7 separate regions of the Homo sapiens genome follow, and regions 2, 3, 4, 5, 6 and 7 are each linked to region 1. Evidence: promoter capture Hi-C in 16 types of primary human blood cells and fetal thymus (Javierre and others, 2016). All regions are on one chromosome and are shown on one strand. The core of a region is centred on a gene start or on the middle of the fragment in contact, and the rest is flanking DNA. Distances in the headings are between cores, read along the strand shown. Region 1 holds the start of DLX6 (distal-less homeobox 6). Region 2 holds the start of DYNC1I1 (dynein cytoplasmic 1 intermediate chain 1). Region 3 overlaps DYNC1I1 (dynein cytoplasmic 1 intermediate chain 1). Region 4 overlaps DYNC1I1 (dynein cytoplasmic 1 intermediate chain 1). Region 5 overlaps DYNC1I1 (dynein cytoplasmic 1 intermediate chain 1). Region 6 overlaps DYNC1I1 (dynein cytoplasmic 1 intermediate chain 1). Region 7 overlaps DYNC1I1 (dynein cytoplasmic 1 intermediate chain 1).

Region 1 (3,199 bases), core at 350-2,849:
AGCAGATCGAAAGTCGGGGTCCAGACCGAGAGGATCTTCAGGTCTCGTCCACCCAATCTCAAGCCTCTGGAAGGGCGGGCTGCCGGCGACCTCCTCCAGTCCCGGGACCCGGAACCCGGGACCCTGGACGCCGGTGCGGGCGGGCCTGCCCTCCTCTGTGCCTGGCCCCCAGTCTGGCCCTCCTACCTGTTGACCAGGCCTGAACCACGCACCGGGGCTCCGCTGTCTCTGCTTGGCTGCCTTAACCTGCGTGGGTCTGGAGACCGGAGGGAGAAAGGCTAGATCCGCAGCCTTGGGCTGCTCCGAACTTAATGTCTTTCCCCAGTCCATCTTTGAAAGAGAAGTGGTTCTACCACCTGGATGTGCGGATATAAATCCCCTTGCAAATAATAAATGGATTAATAATAACAAGGTATGAAGTTCTTTTTATAGAAAAAAAGGAGAGAATTGAAACTAAATGCGGCAGTTAGACAACCATTTTGATAAGAGGATAATTGAGGCGACACTGGTGTATAATTAGAGGATAATTTATGCTATATCCACTTTTATTCCACCTCCCAAAATAAACCCAGTCCATAATCATTACAGGCAAATTGTTCTGAATTTTATAGCAGCAATTTGAACAAAGTACTGCAGTTAATCATGGGAGATTTTTGTGTATTCCTGATTAGAACTCTAATTGCCTCCTTCCAGAAAGTAAAAATAACTGTAAAACGACTCTATTTTTATCATTAACAATGTTGACAATAAAATAAAATCAATTGGAATTGTAATCGAGAGACAAATTTAGGACGAAGGCACTTTTACTTGGGTAGTTTATATTGTAATCAAGATTTGCCAAACCACTAACCGCATGTATCATTTGCATATATTTGAAAGCATTACAGTAGCTTCTGTTTTCAATAGGAAAAAATGCATTACTGTCAGTCCTCCAACGATTCGTTTTCAGAACACGCTGCTGCGTTCTGAAAAGAAAAAAAAGACGCCCCCCCCCCCCACAACCTTTTGTACAATATATAAGAAATACGGCCTGAAACGGCAGGGACCGAGCCAGAACAGGGTCTGATTTTTCTTTTTCTGTACCACCCCCCAGTGGGGTGGAGCCCAGGTGTGAGGGTTCGTCTTCCTTCTGTGGTTTCAATAAAATACGTCTAGAAAAATCCACGGTGACAAGGAGCTCCCACAAGAGTGTAGTAGGACCAGAGTGGCAGGGACGTCAAGAAAGGGGGGCCTGGATTTAATGCGGGGGTGGGGTCACTGCTTCTAAGCACAGGCAACCTACAAGGGTGCAAAGGGATTGAAAGAGAGCAGCCCCCAGTTGGCTGTTTCAAGGCTGAGATATTGGCAACTGGGGCTCCGGGATTTGGGGCACGAGCTGCGGCGGGAAGCATCGGCGGCCGGCCGGGCAGAGGCGCCTCCCTCCCCAACGGCCCCGGGCGCCACACAGCGCGGCCCCCGGCTGCAGCTCCGGCTGGGATTGGAACTGCGGAAGGTAGGCGAAGAACTCTGCAAGTCGCGCACACGCCAGTAGAAGCCGTGCGCCTGTGACGTCAGGGGGCGACTGACCAATGGGGAGGCACTGCCCTTTGGAGACAAACCATTCGACTCGTGGCGTCTGCATCAAGTCTGAAAGCAGACGCGCAACTTTCGCAGAATCCACCTTAAAATCTCTGCCTTAAACTGCACCAGCCCCCAAAAAATCCAAGGGGGGAAAGCAGGCGGGGGGAGAGCAGATTCCCCCCTCCCCCTCTCCTCTCCCATCCCTCCTCCTTCCTCCTCCCTTTGAGTTAACAAGGCCCCGCTCACTATATCTCTTTATATTAAATATATATATATATTAGAGAAGAGCGAGGGAGAGGGAGAACCACCTCCACCCCCCTCTTTAAATTCTTTTTTTTTTTTTTTTTTTTTTTTGCAAGGATCCAAAGAGCTAAGGTGGCTGCAGAGGGGAGAGCGGCGCGAGCCAAGTGGGGGAGGGTGGAGGAAACCCGGGAGAAGGCTTTCTCCAGCCCCCAAAGTTTTTGATGATGACCATGACTACGATGGCTGACGGCTTGGAAGGCCAGGACTCGTCCAAATCCGCCTTCATGGAGTTCGGGCAGCAGCAGCAGCAGCAGCAGCAACAGCAGCAGCAGCAGCAGCAGCAACAGCAACAGCCGCCGCCGCCGCCGCCGCCGCCGCCGCAGCCGCACTCGCAGCAGAGCTCCCCGGCCATGGCAGGCGCGCACTACCCTCTGCACTGCCTGCACTCGGCGGCGGCGGCGGCAGCGGCCGGCTCGCACCACCACCACCACCACCAGCACCACCACCACGGCTCGCCCTACGCGTCGGGCGGAGGGAACTCCTACAACCACCGCTCGCTCGCCGCCTACCCCTACATGAGCCACTCGCAGCACAGCCCTTACCTCCAGTCCTACCACAACAGCAGCGCAGCCGCCCAGACGCGAGGGGACGACACAGGTGAGAGGCCGCTGGGGCAGCTCGCTTCTCCCGCCTCCCGACTGCCCCCTACCCCGCCCGCCCGCTCACTTCCTCGACGCCCGGGCCTCCGCCGGCCCCCTCCCCCAGGCGGCCCCGCGCGCCCTTGGCCGGGCCCCGTGCGCGCCCGCTCGCCTGGCGCCTGCCTGCCGGCCTCTCCCAGCCGGGCCCCTTCCCGCCGCCGCGGACCCTCAGCTTCCGACGCGCAGTTCGGGCTGAGTCCCGGGCCCGGCGCAGGCTTCGTTCGACGAGTTAGTCCACACTGCGCTCTCCAGCCTCCTGGGTCTGTGCGCCCTTTTCCTTGCTCCTTCCCTCCAGGCTGTAACCCACGTTTGACCCGGCTGGGGACATTTCTGGGCCGGAACTGGGGAGCGTGTTTTGCTTCCCAGCCCACGCTGGGCAGGCAGTGGCCTACTTTGCGTGGGGCGCCCCGTGCTCCTCAGTGACTCGGAGGGAAGCTGGCCTGGCTTTCGCTCTGGTTAAACTAGTAACAGTCAGGCTCTTTCCAGTGGGCTTTAAAGTGTCCCTCACCTTCATCCCTGACCGGGCCCCCTATCTAGCTTTTCGCTACAGTGTTGGCTGCTCCTTTGTTCGTGGAGGGGAAGCAAAGAACCTCGGGCTGATGGTTCTCAGCACCCGAGGGGGACAAAGTTGCCGTGAGAGGCGCAGCCTGCTCGTGGGCTGGTCTGAGCTGTTGGTTGTGTTTTGTTTGAGGATTTGG
Region 2 (3,199 bases), core at 510-3,009, 1.2 Mb before region 1:
AATGCCATCTCTACTAAAAATACAAAAATTAGCCGGGCTAGGTGGTGTGCACCTGTAATCTTAGCTACTCAGGAAGCTGAGGAAGGAGAATCGCTTGAACCCAGGAGATGGAGGTTTCAGTGAGCCGAGATTGTGCCACTGCATTCCAGCCTGGGCATCAGAGGGAGACTCTGTCTCAAAAAACAAACAAACAAACAAACAAAACAACAACAACAACAAAAGCAATGCCATGTTGGAAAGACCAAAATACAAAGTAGTTAAAGTACAAGCTGCAGATGAATGGGAATTCAAATCTCAGCTAGATCACTCAGTGGTTATGGAACTTGGGCAAGGGAGTTAACTTCTTTGACTCAAGTTCCTTTTCTGGAGGCATGGCATTCGTTATATGTACTACATAATGTTATAGAAAAGTTAAAGAAAAATGTATGTAGAATTGACATGTATTAAATATTCAGTCACGGTAGTGGCAAATATTTATTTCCTAGATTTTTCCTTCTGGAATACCTTGAATACCTTCTACCTAGACATTTAACCTCTTCATTTCTAGCCATAGTTACAATCGCAGTAGATTAGCCAGGGAGGCCAAAGTTTTAGAATAAGGATGGCCATTTACAGATGAGTATGTATTCATACTGTATTCATACTAGAATCTGTATTTATTTTGAAATTACTGTAGTACTTGTGAATTAATAAGTTCATAAATATTTACTGAGTACCCATTATATATCAGAATGCTGTTCTAGATACTAAGAATACAGCAGTGAACAAGATAGCGTCCCTGCCCTCCACTAATTTACATTCTAATGTGTAAAAATACACCACAGATGTGCAAGAAATATGATGAAAAGCTCATCTATAAAATGATACCAAACCCCCTAACATCCCAAACTCAATTTTTTGGCCTTATAACTTAGCTGTTGTGGCAAGCTTGTTTTTTGCAGAGTCCAATAATAGTTACCCAGATTTTTTTTTGTTTCCCCGAGACGGAGTTTCGCTCTTGTTGCCCAGGCTTTGAGTGCAGTGGCGGGATCTCGGTTCACCACAACCTCCGCCTCCCGGGTTCAACCATTCTCCTGCCTTAGCCTCCCGAGTAGCTGGGATTACTGGCATGCACCACCACGCCCGGCTAATTTTGTATTTTTAGTAGAGACGGGGTTTTTTCATGTTGGTCAGGCTGGTCCCCCAACTCTCGACCTCAGGTGATCCGCCCTCCTCGGCCTCCCAAAGTGCTTGGATTACAGGCGTGAGCCACCGCGTCTGGCCAGTTACCCAGATTTTTAAAAGCTGGGACTTTAAGAAGCAATGTGAAGACAAGCTACACACACACCACACCACACACACACACACACACACACACACACACACAGACACACACACTTAATTCTTTTTTCTTCTAGAAAAATTGGGATCAATCAGACCTATAAGTCATTGTGTACAACAGGTAGATCTGAGCTTTATTTCTATTTAAATGACCTTAAGAAGTGTAGTTGCCTGGGAGTGAAAGTTGTTCAATGGTGGCATTTCAGCAGGAGCTCCCAGAATATTGAAGCTCTTCTCTTTGCAGCAACTGAGGTCTAAGTCCTACCGACGTTAGAGGGATAGACGAATTGACCTTTCCAGGTCCTCTGCTCGCCACCAGCCTACGGAGCGGCGCCACCCCCTCCTGGCGAGACCGGGCGCGGAAGACGCGGAGCGGAGGCCCTCCCTCAGGAGGGGCGCGGGCGTGGAGGGCGTGGGCAGGGGGCGGGGCGAGCCCCGCAGACTGAGTGCTCCGGGGAGCTGTCAGTGTCAGGCTCTGGGAGAGAGGAAGTGATCGCTCCCGGAGGAGCGCGAGCCGAGCGGCCGGCGCAGCGTGAGACAGCACATCCTGCCCGCGCCGGCCCCGCCACCTTCGGGAGCCGCCTGCACCAACGCTGCCGCCGCCCAGGAGCCGCCGCCGGCTCGGGGAGCCCAGTTCCGCCGCTGCCGAGCGCGTCCAGGTAAACTGGAGCGGGATGTCGCCGCTCCCCGGACGGCCGCCTCCGCACCTCTCCCCAACCCTCCCCACCCCGGTGTCGTCTGCGCTGGGAACCAGGCTGGAGCCGAGGCCCCTGCAGCCGCAGCCGGACCCTTGTCCTGGCCCCCTGCCCAGGCTCCTGCGTGCTCCGCTGAGCCCGAAGGCGGCCAAAGCCCCCCAGTGACACCCCCCTCTCGGCAGAGCCGAGAGACTAGGGCAGAGAAGGAAGGGTCGTGGTGTCACCACCTGGTCGCCCACCTTGTGGGCTGGGAAGGGCGTCCCAGTGCGCCCCGCCTCGGTCTTCCCCGGGGGAGCAGTGGGCGAGCGGCGCTGAAATCTGCACCCCTCTGGGCCACCGGCTGACTGCCCCTGGAGGAGGGGGAAAGCTGCAGAGGGAGGGGAAAGGATGCTGTTTGATTACATTTCGAGCTGTCTGCAAAGCTCTTAGATGCTGTCACTACCCTGCAAGTCGGAGGGAGCGAATTCACTTCCAGCAGGGCATTAATTAAACACTTCAAAGCGAGAAGATGCCAGTTTCTCTCTGCTGCGAAAAAGTGTGGCTGGGGGATGTTGTTTTGGTAAACACCTTCACGGCCGCCTGGCTCTCCTTCCCCCGCTCCCATTCGGAATCGCTCTGGCCTTATAAATCCGTGCGTCGTCATCATAAGGGCAGTGATCCTGGCAGCGCTGATGGGAACTGAGTGTGCGGGAGTCTCATGACTTGTACCTTGGCTAATAAGATTAAACAGAAGCCCAGGATCAGGACAGGAAATTACATAGGAGATCAGAGACTCAACAACATGCAGAAGATGGAATATATTCGCTATTCTGGCCTCTACTAATCCTAGGTAAGGGGCAGGAACAAGTAGCCAGCCATTTTCTTGCTTGGAATGCCTTTCAAGTGGGCATTGTAGACTTATTGTAGTTCAGAGTTGTGAAGAATTGCTTCCAAATATTCCAGATTAGCAAAAAGTATAGCTAACAGTAAGGCATAGGCAACTGCAGGTGACAACCCAACGCCTGATGTTAACACAGACATGGGTAACCAGTCTGTGTACATACTTTAATTGTGGAAATTATAGAGATATACGTTGATCAGTGTTAGTAAATTTGAAAAGGGAATATTCAGTGCAATTTGCAAGCTGAGGGTACTGGTGAGAATGTAATACTACCTCTAATTATTTAAAATGCCAAGTTTGTTCA
Region 3 (3,199 bases), core at 393-2,892, 1.1 Mb before region 1:
ACCATTAAATTATACAGTTTAAATAAGGAAATTTCATACTGTGTGAACTTTATTTTAACAAAAAAATTAAGGCAGCCTTGATCTTAAGTCTCTGGTCAACCACCTCTGCTGCTTCTCCGTGCCTTTCATAACCAGCTCCCCATCCAGTCCTTGACATGTCAAAATTATTTTTCCATTTAAATTTTTGGCCTTTATTTTTCAAGGTAACTAGAAAGTTTCTTTGAAATCTAGTGGGTTTTCTTTAGGCCTTCATCACATGTAGGCACAAAACAGTGCCTCTCCTCTTATTTCAGGATGTAGATGCAATGATTCCAGAAGCTAACGATCCATTGTTTATGGTCCTGAAAGGAATGGAGCTCTTTTCAGAACATGTGGAGAAAGCCAGGGCATTCCAGCTTAGTAAATAACTCTATGCTTTGCAAGAATTATTCATAGTACTAAAAATAGTACTTAAAGTTTTCATAACATCCCAAAATATCATTCACGTTTTTCTCAAAATTTCCTTTATCTTTGAAGTGAGAGAAGAGCCACATAGAATATATTTTTTAGAATTCCATTGGTAATGTACATGTTTCTCATGCTTTTATTTGGGAGTAAGTTTGTATAATCCTAACTTTCTTCAGCTTTAGTAGCTATCGTAGATCATCCTTATATCACACTTGGAGCTTCACCTTTTTTTGGATAATACAACTTTATAAGTAGCTAGCAAAGCCATGCTAACCTTATTGTGAGTGGATAGACAAAAGTGTCAATTGAACCAGAAATGGAAAGGGGAATGGGGACAGTGATTCATACAATGGAGTAGTTTTCTTCTTGTGATTCATAATGTCCAATCAAGGACAAATGGACAGAACCTGGGTGGATTGGACTATGCTAGTGTTAAATTGGAAATCTTTGCACCTTGAGCAGTGGCAAATAACCTTCTCAAACTTCAAGTAGCTTTATTTTTTATTCTTTAGTAAGACCTGATTTTTCTTTTCAGAAGAAACATTTCAACTTTCTTGCAATATGGCTTTGCTCAGCCAGCTTTCCCAGCCAAGTTGACAGGACAAGGTGAAAAGAAACTCTCAGGGGAAAGTCAAACCCTAGCTCTGGGGAGATGTTGGCTCCAGGTCACTTCAGGACAAGACCAAGTCAGCTTGTCAAGGATCTGTGGTTCCACTGCCCGGTCTGGAATCATCTGTCTGACTTTTTAGTTTTTTATCTAGCAAAGGTTCTTGAGCCAGTTTCTTAATATTTTGTATACCGCAATCTACTTTCTGTAGCCCTCTTCTTCTCACCTTTTCCCTCATCTCTTTACCTGGCTTGTTTCATAGAACTTCATAATGAAGTTCAAAGACGTCTGCCCATTCAGTGGCACTAAAGCCTCTAGAATAGCCTGGGATCTGATGGCAGGGTGGGGAAGCTCAAACAGGTCTGCCTAAACAATGAAGTTTTCATCTCTCCACTCTATCTAGTATTTTTAAGCCAGTGATACTCAACCTTTAGCAGGCATCAGAATCACCAGAGTAAGGGGTTGTGGGGAAAGGGGGAAGGTGGACAAGCTTCCTAAAACAGATTGCCAGACCCCAACCCTGAAATTTCTGACTCAGTGGGTTGGGGTGGGGACTGTGAATTTGCCTTCTAACCGTCTCCCAAGTGGCACTGCTGCTGGTGGGGTCAGGCACCACACTTTGGGAATCTCTGCTCTAGGATTTCTCGAATTTTGGTTTACTCTTGGCACAATTAATCCAAATATATGAAGCTTTATTGTACTGCATAGGTGATATTGAATGTTTGTTTTCCCACGGTTACTTAAAGCATTATAGTTCAGTAATTTTAAAGTTTCAATAAACCCTTTTATTTTACCAAGGTGAAAATACACCACATGATTTTAAAATGATGCCGTGTCAACCAGGACATACATAATTTGAGTCTCAATTTATATTTCTACATTGTTTCTACCTTTTCTCCTTCTCTTCCCTTTTTTCCTCTCTACCTTCCTGCCTCAAACATTTATTTAGTGCCTGCTATGTACCTGACGCTAAACTAAGGCCCAGGGTATGGCATAAATTAGTAAGGGATAAATAAGTATCTTTGCAGTCTAGTCATGGGTGAGAGACATGAAAAAGAAGTGAATACGGTCATGTGTCACATAATGATATTTTGGTCAATGACGCACTGTGTATTATGGTGGTCCTGTATGATTATAATACTGTATACTTACTGTACCTTTTCTATTTTTAGATACACAAATACTCAACCATTGTGCTACAACTGCCTACGGTATTTAGTACGGTAATATGCTGTACAGGGTTGTAGCCTAGGAGCAATAAGCTATCCCATCTAGCCTAGACGTATAGTAGGCCATACCATCTAGGTTTGCGTAAGTGCGGTCTGTGATATTTGCACAATGACAAAGTTGCCTAACATGCAATTCTCAGAAGGTGTGCCCATCATGAAGCCACACATGACTGTACAGTGACATGTACCAAGGGCTATGGCAGCAGTATCTGGGTGTACAGTGAACAGGGCATAAGCTATGCAGGAGGGGTGGTGGGATGGCAGGAAAGGTAGCACAGAGTCGGAACTGAGGAACCAGCATAGAGTCTGCAGCCTAACTAGAAGGCACGGGAACTGCAGTGGTATGAATGCCACAGTGTTGTCTTGCTCTTCCTCCTTTGCTTAGTTTAACTTAGAGAAATCCCTAAGCAAAAGGTCTTTGCTATGAAAGGACGACACCTTCTGGTCATCCTTTCTGGACTGGCTAGGGCTGGGAGTGATTGTATGGTACTTAACTCAGAAACATAATCCTTTCATTATGTCCTAACAATCTAAACCAGGCTACTTCTCAATAATTCTTTCTCATGCTTCTAAAATGACCACACGTGCTTGGACCACTATATTAGGTTTTAAGAAGCATGCCTCAATGAGTGGATGGTCATAAGGCATTAGAGAACACGCAGGAAAACAAGGTTTTTAAGTATAGTTTCAAAGTTTTTAAGTACATGGCCCTGGGACTTACTCTTGCATAGAGCCAAAGCCCAACTCTGTCACTACCTTTGTGATTTTGGAAAATTTCTTAACATCACTTGAACCTCAGTTTTCTCATCTGTAAAATTGGAATATGAGATAAAATTTTAATGAGGATAAAATAAGATGATGTATGAAAAGCGTCTGGCATATTGTAAGTCCCTGGTTACTAAAACAGCAGCAAAAT
Region 4 (3,199 bases), core at 293-2,792, 1.1 Mb before region 1:
TCCCACAACAGGCTGATTTCCAAAGAAACACACATTTATTCATCCTGAAGGGCTGTGATGTTGAGGAGTCAGACAAAAAATTCAACTATTATGTGAAGACAGTTTGAGAAATATAAATAAGGGAGTGCTTTCACTAGCACTTGCAGTATGGATTTGTGACTCAAGAAAGTCCTGTTCATGTGTTTCTTCATTTTTTCCCTGGGTTTCCATAATCAGAGAAGGGAAGGACAGGAAAGCATGTGATATTTATATAGCAGAAATGATACTATATTAAAGGGTTTCTTTAGGTGTTAAACAGTTTGGCTTGCAAACGTCTAGACTTTTTTAAATATCTAAAAATGACAAATCTTAAACACCACTCCCAATAACTTCCTTAAAATTTGATATAAGAAATGTTGCCTGGGCTTTATAGTCCCATAATTGCTTGGCTGAGAACATGTGCCTTACTCCTGTTCCTATACAAGGTCCATCATCTTGCTGGCACTCCATGAATGTCAACTACCAAGTGTACAGATTTAGGTATCAAAGACTGCTGATGATGCAAAACCTAGAGATCTAGGAAATACTGAGGAATAATGCAGCCAGACTCAAAAGGTTTGTTTCTTTGAGCTGCCAGAGCTAGTAATGTAAGTGGAAAATATAGTTAATATAGACAGATGTCAAACAAAGCCAAGTGGAAAGAACAGGAAACAAAAATATTAAATGAAACAGTAGAGTGTGCTTACTGGGTTGGGACTTGGAGAATTGGGTTTGGAATCTCTTTGCAGTCTGCCCTGTGAAAGACTGAAAGAAAATTTTGAAGTGATGTGAAAATTTATTCGGTTCCTCAGTGGATAACCCTTTCCCAAACAATGAGAATCTCTGATGAAGCCTCTGCTGTTACTTATGAAGAAATTTGATAACTATTTAACATGTTGATATTATACTACTATCAAGTGATATTGTAAATACCTGCCCTTCCCTCATCCACCCATGCAAAGCATCCTGGAACATCCCAGATTATTAGTTGCTGTAGTCCATCTAGAATGCTATAATGAGACACCATAAACTGGGTAGCTTATAAATAACAGAAATTTGTGTCTCACAATTCTGAAGGCTGGAAAGTCCAAGATCAAGATTCCAGGAGACTTGGCACCTGGTGAAGCCTGGCTTTCTGGTTTATAGAAAGCATCTTCTCTGTCTCCTGATATGATAGAAGGGGCAAGGGATCTCTCTAGGGTCTCTTTATAAGAGTACCAATCCCCAGTTATCTCCCAAAGGACCTACATCTAATACCCTTACCTTGGGGGTTAGGATTTCAATACCTGAATTTGGGGGGGGGACATAAACATTTAGTCTATTGTATTAGCACTGCAAGCATAGGGTGTAAGAGTGTGTATCTTCTTTTCAAACTTAGGAATTAGCTATTTCTTCATAGATTCTTCTAGTTAGTAATAGGTTGGTGCAAAAGTAATCACAGTTTAAATTTTAAATCATTATAACTAGGCTCAAACACATCTTTATTAATTAAAATAGGAACCATTACAATCAACACATTTTTGCCAACTGGAAATAAGTTTGTTTATTCCTGTAGCATAAAAATCTGTGCTTCGGGATTCAATGAACTCTTGGAAAGCATTTTCTGCATCCTGCTGGTTGTGGAAACATTTTCCATGTAAAAAGTTGTCGAGATGCTTGAAGAAGTCAGTTGGTGAGAGGTCAGGTGAATATGGCAGTTGAGGCAAAACTTCTTAGCCCAATTCGTTCAACTTTTGAAGCATTGGTTGTGTGTTGTGCAATGAGTGGTCAGGCATTGTTGTGGAGAAGAATTGGGCCTTTTCTGTTGACCAATGCCGGCTGCAGGCATTGCAGTTTTCAGTGCATCTCATCAATTTGCTGAGCATACTTCTCAGATGTAATGGTTTCACCGGGATTCAGAAAGCTGCAGTGGATCAGACTGGCAACAGACAACCTAACAGTGACCACGACCCTTTTTTGGTGCAACTTTGGCTTTGGAAAGTGCTTTGGAACTTCATCTTGGTCTGACCACTGAGCTGGTCATCGCTGGTTGTTGTATAAAATTCACTTTTCGTCACATGTCACAATCCGATGGAGTATAGTTCATTGTTGTTGAGTACAATAAGAGAAAATGACACTTCAAAATGGTGATATTTTCAATTTTCACTCAGCTCACGAGGCACCCATTTATCAGCTTTTTCACTCTTCCAATTTGCTTCAAATGCCAAACAACCATAGAATGGTCCATGTTGAGTTCTTCGGCAATTTCTCATGTGGTTGTACGAGGATCAGCTTCGACGATTGCTCTCAATTGGTCATTGTCAACTTCCGATGGCTGGCCACTATACTCCTCATCTCAAGTCTCCTGTCTCCTTTGGAAAACTTCTTGAACCACCACTGCACTGTACATTCATTAGCAGTTCCTGGGCCGAATGCGTTGTTGATGTTGTGAGTTGTCTCCACTGCTTTACGACCCATTTTGAACTCGAATAAGAAAATCATTCGAATTTGCTTTTTGTCTAACATCATTTCCATTGTCTAAAATAAATATAAAATAAACAGCAAGTAATAAGTCATTAGCAAAAAAAAAGTGAGAAATGGCCATTAAAGTGATATATAACATAACTACATTTATTTAAGAATGTATTCCAATATCACACAGCAAATTTCAACAATGCAAAAACTGCAATTATGTTTGCACCAAGCTAATAGTATCCTGTCTTATGCCACTAATTACCTTAGGGCTGAGTGAAAGCGGGGCCTGCTAGCCCTGATGATGGACCCTCAGTTCAGAGTCAGCTTGAGAGGGAGGCAAGAGAAACCATCTTCTCCACCTTTCCCCTCCTAGGGCAGTTATCTGAGAGAAGAGCCGGCAGAAGGCATTTAGCCTTCAGTCTGTGAAGTGTTGGTGCTGGACAAATTATAGCAGAAGCTGGGCTGCTACAGAGTAACTAGGGTTGGCAATAGCTTGCTTGTTGATGGCCACTTTCTTAGGCAAGTCCAGACACAGTATATAGCGGCTTCAGGTGGGACTAGAACATCCCTGCAGCACCATCTGCCCAGGCTTGCTCGGTGAAGAGCCCTGAGCCCTAAGCCCTAAATCCTAAGGTGGTGTCAGTTTAGCTTAAAGGAAGGTGGTCTTCTTGGAGAAATGTGCCAAGCTTGAGAGCGTCCTAAACATCATGGCAAAATATGAGGCAAA
Region 5 (3,199 bases), core at 440-2,939, 1.1 Mb before region 1:
GAGTCTTGAAGCCAGGGAAACTTCACAGTTTTGGAGGTTCGAACTTGTCAGTGACCAAAGTGAAGTGATCTGAAGCCAGGAGGTAAGTCATGATGGCGAGGAGAAGTCCAGTCCAGAGGAGGAAGGCATTCAGATTCTGAGAATGAGGCAGATTATTGGAGTGGGGCCGGTGGAGAGACCCCACAGAGGTGACACAGGTGACACTGAGGCAGTGGTGGTATGTACTTCTCTGCTTCAGTTAAGGGTCAAAAAAGGCTGACCAGAGGTGAGAAGAAGGAAAGCAAGGAGGGAAGGAACAATATCAAGCACTCCTCCTGAGAAGTGGCTGATTGGAAATGTGCCCATGAAGGACACAGAGGCCCAAGCTTACATTTAGGAAATAGTTGAAACACTAGGGAAGCAGGAAATAACACACTCTAAGGCAGTGATTCTCAAATTTGAGCATGCATCCCAATCACCTGGGGGGCTTGTTCAAACCAGGTTGCAGGGCCTCATCTTTTGACCTTCTGGTTCAGCAGGTCTGAAGTCAGGTCTGTGAGTTGCACGTGTGGTGAGGTCCCAGGTCAGCACCTGCTGCTGCTGGTCTAAGGATCTCATCTTGAGAACCACTACTTTAAAGGGGGCTATCCTACCAATAAGATAAATTAGAAAAATGTGTATAGCTAGTGTTTCAAGGTCACTGCAACTAGTTACAGATTATCTGTAAGAAGACTTCAGAGATGATAAAGCATGCCCTAATCTGCAGGATGAATTCCCAAGCACTCAAATTTGTGAACAGGTAATCCAAACTTTTTAAGGCTGCTTGTTTAGCACTCACTCATCACTTGAACATCATTTTTTTTTTCTTTTTTGAGAAAGAATCTTGCTCTGTTGCCTGGGCTGGAGTGCAGTGGTGTGATCTCAGCTCACTGCAACCTCCACCTCCCAGGTTCAAGTGATCCTCCTTCCTCAGTCTCCTGAGTAGCTGGGACTACAGGCATGTGCCACCACACCCGGCTAATTTTTGTATTATTAGTAGAGAGGGGGTTTCACCATGTTGGCCAGGCTGGTCTCAAAATCCTGACCTCAGGTGATCCACCCGCTTTGGCCTCCCAAAGTGCTGGGATTACAGGCTTGAGCCATCATGCCTGGCCCACTTGAACATCTTGATGCTAAGAAAGGAGAGGAAAGGCAGTTCTGGAGTGAAGGAGTTTATCTGGCTTGTTCTGTTCTCCGTGGTATGAGGACATTTGCCTTTGATACGTTTAATCTCTCTTGTTCAGGGTGTGCAGTGCATGTGGCTCAGGTTGAAGAGCTGGTCTTTCCCACTCCTTGATTTGCAGGGACATAGAGTGAATAATTAATAATGAGAAATCATGTTCTGATCATGTGCAGGTTCTCCTGCCAGAAGAATGCCCATTGAGGCACCTCTCTAGCAGTAGAGAAGGAACCGTTCTAGCCAGACATGCAGGCTTGCCCCCTCTTTGACCAACATGCCAGGCAGCTTTGGAGGCGGGAGGAGGAAAGGCAATCTGTTTGTGTCCATTGTCTAGAGTCTCATTAGCACCAGCCCTGGTCAAGGACTAATAACCCACACTTTTGTCCTTCCTCTGCCTTTGTCTGAATCAGCTTCTAAACAGTGGGAGGACCACCTCAAAGGCAGGAGATTGGTGGGCTACAGACCAAGATGGACTTCCTGTATCTTAGTATTGTGGCAGTGGATTGGTTTCATGCATCCTTGGAAATAGTTACTCCCCCATGCTCCCAAAATGAGAACCAACTTTTGCAAGTTGGCTAAAAAAAAGAAAGAAAGCAAGCTAGTTAAATCCCTTTGATTAATGCTCTACCACTATTGGCAAAAATAGTCTGTTAATATTTTTATGTAGACTTTTCCTTTGGCTTGTTTGCTTAAGGTGAGCTAGTGTCTCTTTCATTACTTGCACCTCTGGTTAGGAGCCAGAGCCTAGTTCATGGTTCTATCCTGGGTGGGAAAAAACAGATGTTAATGTGTTTGCATCTTCATATTCATATAGAAATATTATTTTTTAGTTCTCTTGAAATTTCATAAACTGATCCTTGCTAAGTAAAGTGGTCCTGATCTAAAAATAGAACAGAGCTCTTGAGCGGAGGTGGGGGCATGGTGCCACACATATGAAAGAGAGCTGGACATGGTAATATGGTTTGGCTGTGTCCCCACCCAGATCTCACTGTGAATTGTAGCTCCCATAAACCCCAGGTGCCATGGATGGGACCCTGTTGGAGGTAATTGAATCACGGGGGCAGGTTTTCCCATGCTGTTCTCGTGATAGTGAATAAGTCTCACAAGAACTGATGGTTTTATAAAGGGCAGTTCCCCTGTATGCACTCTCTTGCCTGCTGCCACATAAGACATGCCTTTGCTCTTCCTTTGCCTTCTTCCATGATTATGAGGCCTCCTAGCCAAGTGGAACTGTGAGTCCATTAAACCTCTTACCTAGTCTCAGGTATATCTTTATTAACAGCATGAGAAAGGACTAATACACATGGGTAACACATAGAATTAGGGAAATGGCATCCTTGCCAGTCTTTTGGATTATGAGTCTGATTTTTAGTCTCTATTCACTAATAATGCTATGGGTTTAATAATTCAGTTGTCTGTAGTTGTGCTTCCTAATCTTTTTGCATTAATATCAGAGTATTTGCATGGAACACTGGGATAAATGAAGGAGGTAGCCCCATCCTCATCCCAGGGCTGAGGATATCAGTTGCTTACAACACACTTGTGACCCCTTAGTGGCACACCAGGTGAGAAGCTCTGATCTTGGGCAGAATTGTGCATTTGATCTGTTTGCAAGCCTTTTAGCTTTGACCTGTTTCATGGCCAGAGCTATACATTCACCCAGGCAGGGACTGGGTTGATAGGTTTATTGGAAGTACCAGGCAAGAAGGCCTGAATGGGGCACCAGACCTGTTACTCCTGGAAAAACAATTCAAAGCACATTTCATCTATGACATCATGAATCATATTACTATTTTCATTTTCTTTACTCACTAGGAAGCTTTAAGCCACTTCCAGTAGCTGAATAGGATGGGGCTGCTTTCTTGTCCATGGCTCTAATATTTCCCCTCATTAGAACATTCCTGATTATTTACTGTATCCTTTTGTATTATGGTTATTTTTATAGGCCACTTGAAATCCTTTCTGCGGGTTGTGGATTATGGAAGAGAGCAAATAATTTAA
Region 6 (3,199 bases), core at 367-2,866, 1.1 Mb before region 1:
AGTCTGTTTGTTCATGTGTATTAAAGTATCATTAGAAAGGAAGCAGCCTCAGATGAAGCCATTTTAGCCATTGATGTGTCTCAAAAGGGTTAATCAGATACAGAAACTTAACAATTTCTAGAATTGTAAGGAAATAATTTTGTTTCTTGTAAAGCAAGAGTAATAATTGATGCTCACGTGAATTGACATTTTTGGTAGCTTAGAAATGGCACCAAATGTGGGTTTTGGCAAAACCTATATTTTCATGAAGAAATGGCTTTTAAACATGTTGGCATTTCTGTTCATGATAGACACACCATTTGAATCCAAACCCTTGCAGAGGTGACATGACACTGCACTGAAGGCAGTGACACATTTTTTTTAAAAAAAACTTCACATAAAATTATGTAAACACTTAAAGTGAATGAGACACCTGCCTTTGAGACACCCGCCTTTCAGTCGCCCTTGTTATGCCACCCACAGCCTTTTCTCCTTGGCTATTCTTAGCAGGATTTATTTTGAGCCTAGTGGTGGTAAAAGATGTAACATAAAATGAAACCCGACACTTAGAGCTCCCTATTATTAATTCATAAATTCAGTCTGGGATCACCCATTGGTGCCAATGAAAGATTAGCCTAGAGAACAATCACGGTTCACATTCTATACAGTAGTATAGAAGAAAGTTTGCCACTGATAATTGTATTTATGTAAGTGCTAGCAATAATTGCCTGGTGGTCTTGGAACAGTGATAAAGAAGAAAATGACCAGAGTAAACTCTGCTGTTCAATTTCTTGGACTAAAAACTGCATGGAGACAGGAAAACAGCCTGAAAACAACCAACCATGGCCCCCCTCAATGATTTGGAGAAATGAAACAATTTTGGACATTTTCTTAGGTTAATAGATGGTTACTGAGTACTTCTGGAGTTCCTCTAGGGTATACCGGTACACTATTAGGTACTAGGGGTCACATGTTAAATTACAAACAAAAGCTTTGGTTCCCAAATTATAGCCCTTGTTAGGAAAAGCAAAGAAACAAAACATGATCAACATATAAGTGGGAATTTTTTCTTAGTAATTCAAGTAATTCTTAAGGCTTCCATTATGTAAACCTGTGGCTGAACTTATAAAATACTGAAACAACTCATTGAAAACCAATCAGTTACATATCCACAAATAAAATGGTATGATAAATAGTTCTTTCTCATAGACACTGTTAGTTTGTTGTCTTGGCTTCATATGAACAGAGAATGAAGGCAAGTCCTCATTGTAAAACACCAAAGTCATAGAATAAAGAACTCCCAGAACTGGAAGAGACTTTAAGTTCACCTGGTTAACTGCCAATATCATCACATGTATTATCCACCTGGTGGATTTTACTTGTTTTAAAATCCCTGCCTGACTTCTCCTTGCCTCTCCTTGAATTTTAAAATTGCTATCTCATACTATCACTTGAGACTGCAAATCCTTTTTCATACTAGCAAAATAAAAATATAAGAATATAAATATACACAAAACTACAAAGTAAAAGGAAATGACTTGTAGCATCTCAAAGTTAAGAAAAAACACCGAGGCTTTTTTGTTCTTCGTTTTTTTTTGTTTTTGTTTTTGTTTTTTGTTTTGTGTGTGTGTGTGTGTGTGTGTCTGTGTTAGAAACACTTAACATAAGATCTACTCTCCCAACAAAAATTTGTACCATAAATTATTGTTAACTATAGATACAATGTCCTATAGCAGATCTCTAGAGCTTATTCACCTTGCTTGAGTGAAATGTTATGCCTTTGATTAGTAACTTCCCATTTTCCCCTCCCCCTCAGCCTGTTTACCACCATTCTGCTCTTTGATTCTATGAATTTAACTATTTTAGAGACCTCAGGTAAGTGGAATCATGCAGTATTTGTCTTTCTGTGACTGGTATATTTCACTTAGCATAAGATCCCCAACATTCATTCATGATGTCACATATTGCAGAATTTTCTTCTTTTTAAGGCTGAATAGTATTCCGTGGCATGAATATACCACATTTTCTTTATCCATTCAAATGTCAATGAACATTTAGGTTGTTTCCACATCTTGGCTATTGTGAATAGTGTTTCAATTTACATAGGAGTACTAATAACACTTCAAGATTATGGTTGCATCTCTTTTGGATGGATACTGAAAAGTGTGATTGCTGGATCATACAGCAATTTTATTTTTATTTTTTTGAGGAACTGCCAAACTATTTTCCATAGAGACTGCAACATTTTGCATTCTTGCTAACAGTGTGCAAGTGCTCCAATTAAAAAGCTTATGCACAGCAAAGGAAACAATCAACAGCGTGAAAAAGCAACCTAAAGATTGAGAGAACATATTTGCAAACCATAAATCTGATAAGTGGTTAATGTCCAAAATATATAAAGAACTCCTACAACTCAAAAGTTTTTTTAAAAAAACTAATACCCTGATTAAGAAATGGACGACAGATTTAAATAGACATTTCTCCAAAAAAGACATACAAATGGCCAACCAATACATGCAAACATGTTCAATGTCAACAATTATCAGGGAAATGAAATCAAAACCACAATGAGATATTGCCTCATACCTGCTAGCATGGTTATTATTTTAAAAAGACAAGTATTAGTGAGGATGTGGAGAAATTTCATGTTTTTTTGGTCTTAGCTGAAGTATACAGTAACACAGATAATTTCTTTCTTTCCATTAAAGGAGCTAGTCAGATGTGACCTCACGTACCTCACATTTCTCATAATACTCTCATCCAACTGCTAAATAGGCAAGCAAATATTAAATTCAAGAATGGTGTGTCTGCAAGAGAATAGTTATTATAGAGAAGTAGTTACTGAGAAATTAATGAAATATGTGTATTTGTCATATAAAATAAAGAACTCATAAGAGTTCAATTATATACATGGCTGATATGCTGGGAAGGACAGGAAAATAATTGGGAAAACTAATGTCAAAACGATAGCTGAGTTTTTAGTAATGAACCATTTCCCTGGACTTGCATTGATGATAGTCACAAGTAGAGTAGCTATAATCTAAACACTTCTTACTAAAAATAAGATCCTAGAATATCCATAGACTGGGAAGTTGGCCATAGATAGTGCCCAGATTTATAGAAACCACCACAGAATGGCTTTTCATCTGTATCTGGTTTTTAGGTGAAACAAGGTGTGTTTAAAAAGCATATACTGGAAAAAGAGAAAAAAAGAAAAAAT
Region 7 (3,199 bases), core at 417-2,916, 1.0 Mb before region 1:
CTGAGGAATCAACCCAAAATTACTTATGCCAAAAGAAAGTTTGTTGGCTTTTATAAATAAAAATTGGCCCTAGGCACTAGGGTCATGCTAGCTTCAGCTACTGCTCAATTTAGGTTCCAAGTTGCTATCATGATCCCATCTCTTAGCCCTGCTTTATCTATTCCTTCTTTTTCATGTTCCATGTGGTGAGCCATGGCAGCTTCAGTTCCACAGCAATACAACACCCAATCCAGTAGAGGAGAGGAGTTCACTTTCCTGATGGGTGACCATGTGTTCTGGTTTAGCTGGAACAGTCACCCAGTCCAATAGAAAAGAGGAGTCTACTTCTATAATAGGAGATACATCCAGAATTTCCCAAGACAGTCACCTAGTCCAAAGGAGGTGGACTGATGGACAGGATGACCATAGGTCTGGTTTTCCCAGGCACTCTTTATTCACATCTGTCATTGCAGCTTGATTATTAATTGTACCTCCATTCTCTCTCAGAAGTGTCCCAATTTATGGTAGATGTATATGGTCATTTTACTGATAGTACAAAGAAAAATAGTCTCATTAATCTTTGCCTCAGATACAAAGTCTTCCTCTAAATCTTAAGTAGTATTTACTTAGAGGAGAGAGGGAGAATGTGTCCACCAAAGAATAATAGAGGGCCTGTTATCCCAAGAAGTGGGGTGGTGGTTCTGGATGGCCAAAACCACAAATGTAGATTACAGTTCCCCTTTTCTCTTCATACTGTTCGGTACTGTTTAGCTGTAGAAATGGTTTGGGAGTTGGAAAAACATGGGTTTGACTCTTGACTCTACTGCTGCGTGTAGCTCATTCACCTTAGTGGAAGCATCTTCCCTTTCTAAAGCCTCGGTTTTCTCATACATAGAGAAAGCTCATCATGTTTGCCTCAGTGAGTTATTATGAGGAGTGAATAGACTGATAGACATGAAGGATTCAATAAATCAATAGCTACTGTTTTTCCATAGTGCCTGGAATACATCTTACCACACAATATGTGGTCAGTAAGTACCTGGTGACCGGTGACTAGGACAGGAAACAAACAAGAAAGGACCGTGAACCTCATAGTGGGTGCAGGGAGGCACGGGGTGAGTGTAGACAAGAGTTGCTGTCAGTGGTGGTGGGGCTTAGTGATCAAGGAAAGGAAAACACTTTGATGCTGAGTGAGGAGATTCATGATCCAACTGAAACATTGGGGAAACCACTGAGAAAACGTCCTTTTTAGAACTACTGGGGAAATTAGAAATTATTAAAATTTAAAACAGTAAAAATATTTACTAGACACCCACATTGGGGCATACAGATATGAATAATTAATGGAGCCTACTCCCAAGAATTTGGGAGGAAAAAACTCATAAATATACAGAATTATGTTCTACTTACAATTTATATATCATAGCTAGAGAATGATAAATGCCATAATCTTAAACATAATAGTTCTTTGATTGGATGAACAAAAGGTTGTAGGAAATACCCAACTGAAGTGCTATGAGAGGTTAAAGGAAGAAGAAATCCCGCCAACAGGTAGAGCAGGAACAATTTGGGGAACTGGGGGGTTCTTAGAATCAGGTCATCAGTGTAGCTGGATTTACATGTAGGGAAGATCAGAAAGTATTGGAGGCCTTGGACACTCCAGGTGCACTCTTACCCTTGTGCTTTTGTTTCCTTTGCCTAGGTTGCTCTCCCACAGGGGTCCATAAGACCTGATCCCTCACTTCCTTGAGTGTATTGCCAAATGCCACCTCTCAGTAAGGACCTCCCTTGCTCTCTGTGTAAAATTGTGACACCTACTACTGTGTTTTTGTTGTTAGTGATTGCAGCTCTCTAACCTGCCATATACTTCAACTGTTTATCTTGTTTATTCTCCATCTTGCTGCTAGAATGCCAGCTCCATGAGGGCAGGAATTTTTACCTGTTTTGTTCACTGCTGCATCTCCAATACGTAGAATATACCCAGCACATAGTAGGTGCTCATATTTTGTAACAGGAAAAGAAGAAGGGAGTCTGACTGAGGGGAAGCATGAACCAAGGTACAGATGGAATGTGGAACTGTGTGCAGCAGATACTGTGTTAGTGCAGGCAGACTGGAGTATGCATGTGTGTATGTGCATGCTTGTGCGGGGGTGAACACAGTAGAGGACATTTAAACAGGAAGCACATATTGGGGCCAGACCTTAGAGGACTTGAAGACTAGGCCAAGGAACTCAGCTTTTAGTCTGCATGTCATAGAAACTATCAAATGTTTCCACCAGGAAATTGATATGAACAAGTTGTTTGAAGAGGATTGATCAGACAGTGTTGTTTGTAGCAAGAGTAGGCGTGGAAAGAGGTTAGAGGTAGGGAACAATGACCAGGTGCTGCATAAAAAGCCAAGGTGGCCTTAACCGAAAAAAAAAAAGGAGGTGGGAAATGGAGAGAATAAAGGGAGATGTGCAAAAGAAGGGTATACAAAGAGATAGAATTAACAATATTTGATCCTGTTAATAAAAGGAATGCTAGAGAACATGTACTAATATTAGTGGGATGACCTATATATGCAGTGATTGATGTGACAACAGCTCTAACATTAATAGTCAGAGATGATGACTCTTAGGTATGGAAGGTACCACTCTGTCCTTAGGAACAATTTCCTTACAGCGAAAATAGTGCTTCTAAATGGTTTCTATTTATTTTACTCTTTTTTAAACTAGTTAACATAACACAATAACAATTCTAGTATGTGAAGACCTTGAGTGTCTGCCTTCCTTTGGGACAGATCTACAGTCACTCCTAAAAGTTAAATATCATGACATCTCTATCTCTGTGACTCTGATTTTCTTTTTCACAAGCAAGGTTCCCACCAAAGGAAACTGCAGATTTGCACATTGGGAAGACTTAATAGAGAAAGCAGAAGAATAGAGAATGGAATTGTCTAAAAGCGGAAGTAGATAGCAGAAGGGATTTGAGTCTGAAAAACAGAGGAGTCCCTCCTTATTTTCCAAGCAGCCAAGAATTGCATCTTCAATTGTTCTGAATTTTTTGCTCTGTGTGTGTGTGTGTGTGTGTGTGTGTGTGTGTGTGTGTGTGTGTGTAGGCATGTGCATGCATATGTGGACAGCTACACATATAGGGCTGCCAAGGATGGCCATAAAGGCTGTGTCTTACACGCCTCAAGGAGGCTCTATTCACATAGGCCATAATGGCAATGCTGCTT

Evidence for each region. The method cuts DNA at HindIII sites, captures the fragments that hold promoters and counts their contacts. A CHiCAGO score of 5 or more calls a contact.
Region 2: the fragment with the promoter of DYNC1I1 here is called in contact with the fragment with the promoter of DLX6 in region 1 in 13 of 17 cell types (activated CD4 T cells, total B cells, M0 macrophages and 10 more); the score reaches 13.0 in activated CD4 T cells.
Region 3: a contact is called between a fragment that was not itself captured here and the fragment with the promoter of DLX6 in region 1, in 1 of 17 cell types (non-activated CD4 T cells). The highest score is 6.2, in non-activated CD4 T cells.
Region 4: a fragment that was not itself captured here is called in contact with the fragment with the promoter of DLX6 in region 1 in 2 of 17 cell types (naive B cells and activated CD4 T cells); the score reaches 7.8 in naive B cells.
Region 5: a contact is called between a fragment that was not itself captured here and the fragment with the promoter of DLX6 in region 1, in 17 of 17 cell types (monocytes, naive CD8 T cells, total CD4 T cells and 14 more). The highest score is 21.5, in monocytes.
Region 6: a contact is called between a fragment that was not itself captured here and the fragment with the promoter of DLX6 in region 1, in 11 of 17 cell types (monocytes, total CD4 T cells, total CD8 T cells and 8 more). The highest score is 12.9, in monocytes.
Region 7: a contact is called between a fragment that was not itself captured here and the fragment with the promoter of DLX6 in region 1, in 1 of 17 cell types (total CD4 T cells). The highest score is 6.4, in total CD4 T cells.

The regions. Positions count from the first base shown.
Region 1 is chr7:97,003,954-97,007,152 of GRCh38, forward strand. It overlaps DLX6 (distal-less homeobox 6), which reads left to right and starts at 1,600. Exons shown (of 3, transcript NM_005222.4): 1 at 1,600-2,460. The coding sequence starts at 2,025. All of the region lies in intron 1 of DLX6-AS1 (DLX6 antisense RNA 1), which reads right to left. RefSeq lists an enhancer at 317-1,038 and a silencer at 2,351-2,450. The HindIII fragment of the contact is 12,379 bases long and covers 1-3,199 here.
Region 2 is chr7:95,770,795-95,773,993 of GRCh38, forward strand. It overlaps DYNC1I1 (dynein cytoplasmic 1 intermediate chain 1), which reads left to right and starts at 1,760. Exons shown (of 17, transcript NM_001135556.2): 1 at 1,760-1,979. The HindIII fragment of the contact is 2,753 bases long and covers 926-3,199 here.
Region 3 is chr7:95,863,457-95,866,655 of GRCh38, forward strand. The region is part of intron 5 of DYNC1I1 (dynein cytoplasmic 1 intermediate chain 1); the gene reads left to right. Among named protein-coding and RNA genes, the nearest start is that of DYNC1I1, 93 kb to the left of the region's middle. The HindIII fragment of the contact is 200 bases long and covers 1,543-1,742 here.
Region 4 is chr7:95,893,147-95,896,345 of GRCh38, forward strand. All of the region lies in intron 6 of DYNC1I1 (dynein cytoplasmic 1 intermediate chain 1), which reads left to right. Among named protein-coding and RNA genes, the nearest start is that of DYNC1I1, 120 kb to the left of the region's middle. The HindIII fragment of the contact is 3,227 bases long and covers 1-3,156 here.
Region 5 is chr7:95,911,204-95,914,402 of GRCh38, forward strand. The region is part of intron 6 of DYNC1I1 (dynein cytoplasmic 1 intermediate chain 1); the gene reads left to right. Among named protein-coding and RNA genes, the nearest start is that of DYNC1I1, 140 kb to the left of the region's middle. The HindIII fragment of the contact is 2,652 bases long and covers 364-3,015 here.
Region 6 is chr7:95,933,354-95,936,552 of GRCh38, forward strand. All of the region lies in intron 6 of DYNC1I1 (dynein cytoplasmic 1 intermediate chain 1), which reads left to right. Among named protein-coding and RNA genes, the nearest start is that of DYNC1I1, 160 kb to the left of the region's middle. The HindIII fragment of the contact is 1,297 bases long and covers 969-2,265 here.
Region 7 is chr7:95,965,795-95,968,993 of GRCh38, forward strand. All of the region lies in intron 6 of DYNC1I1 (dynein cytoplasmic 1 intermediate chain 1), which reads left to right. Among named protein-coding and RNA genes, the nearest start is that of DYNC1I1, 190 kb to the left of the region's middle. The HindIII fragment of the contact is 8,224 bases long and covers 1-3,199 here.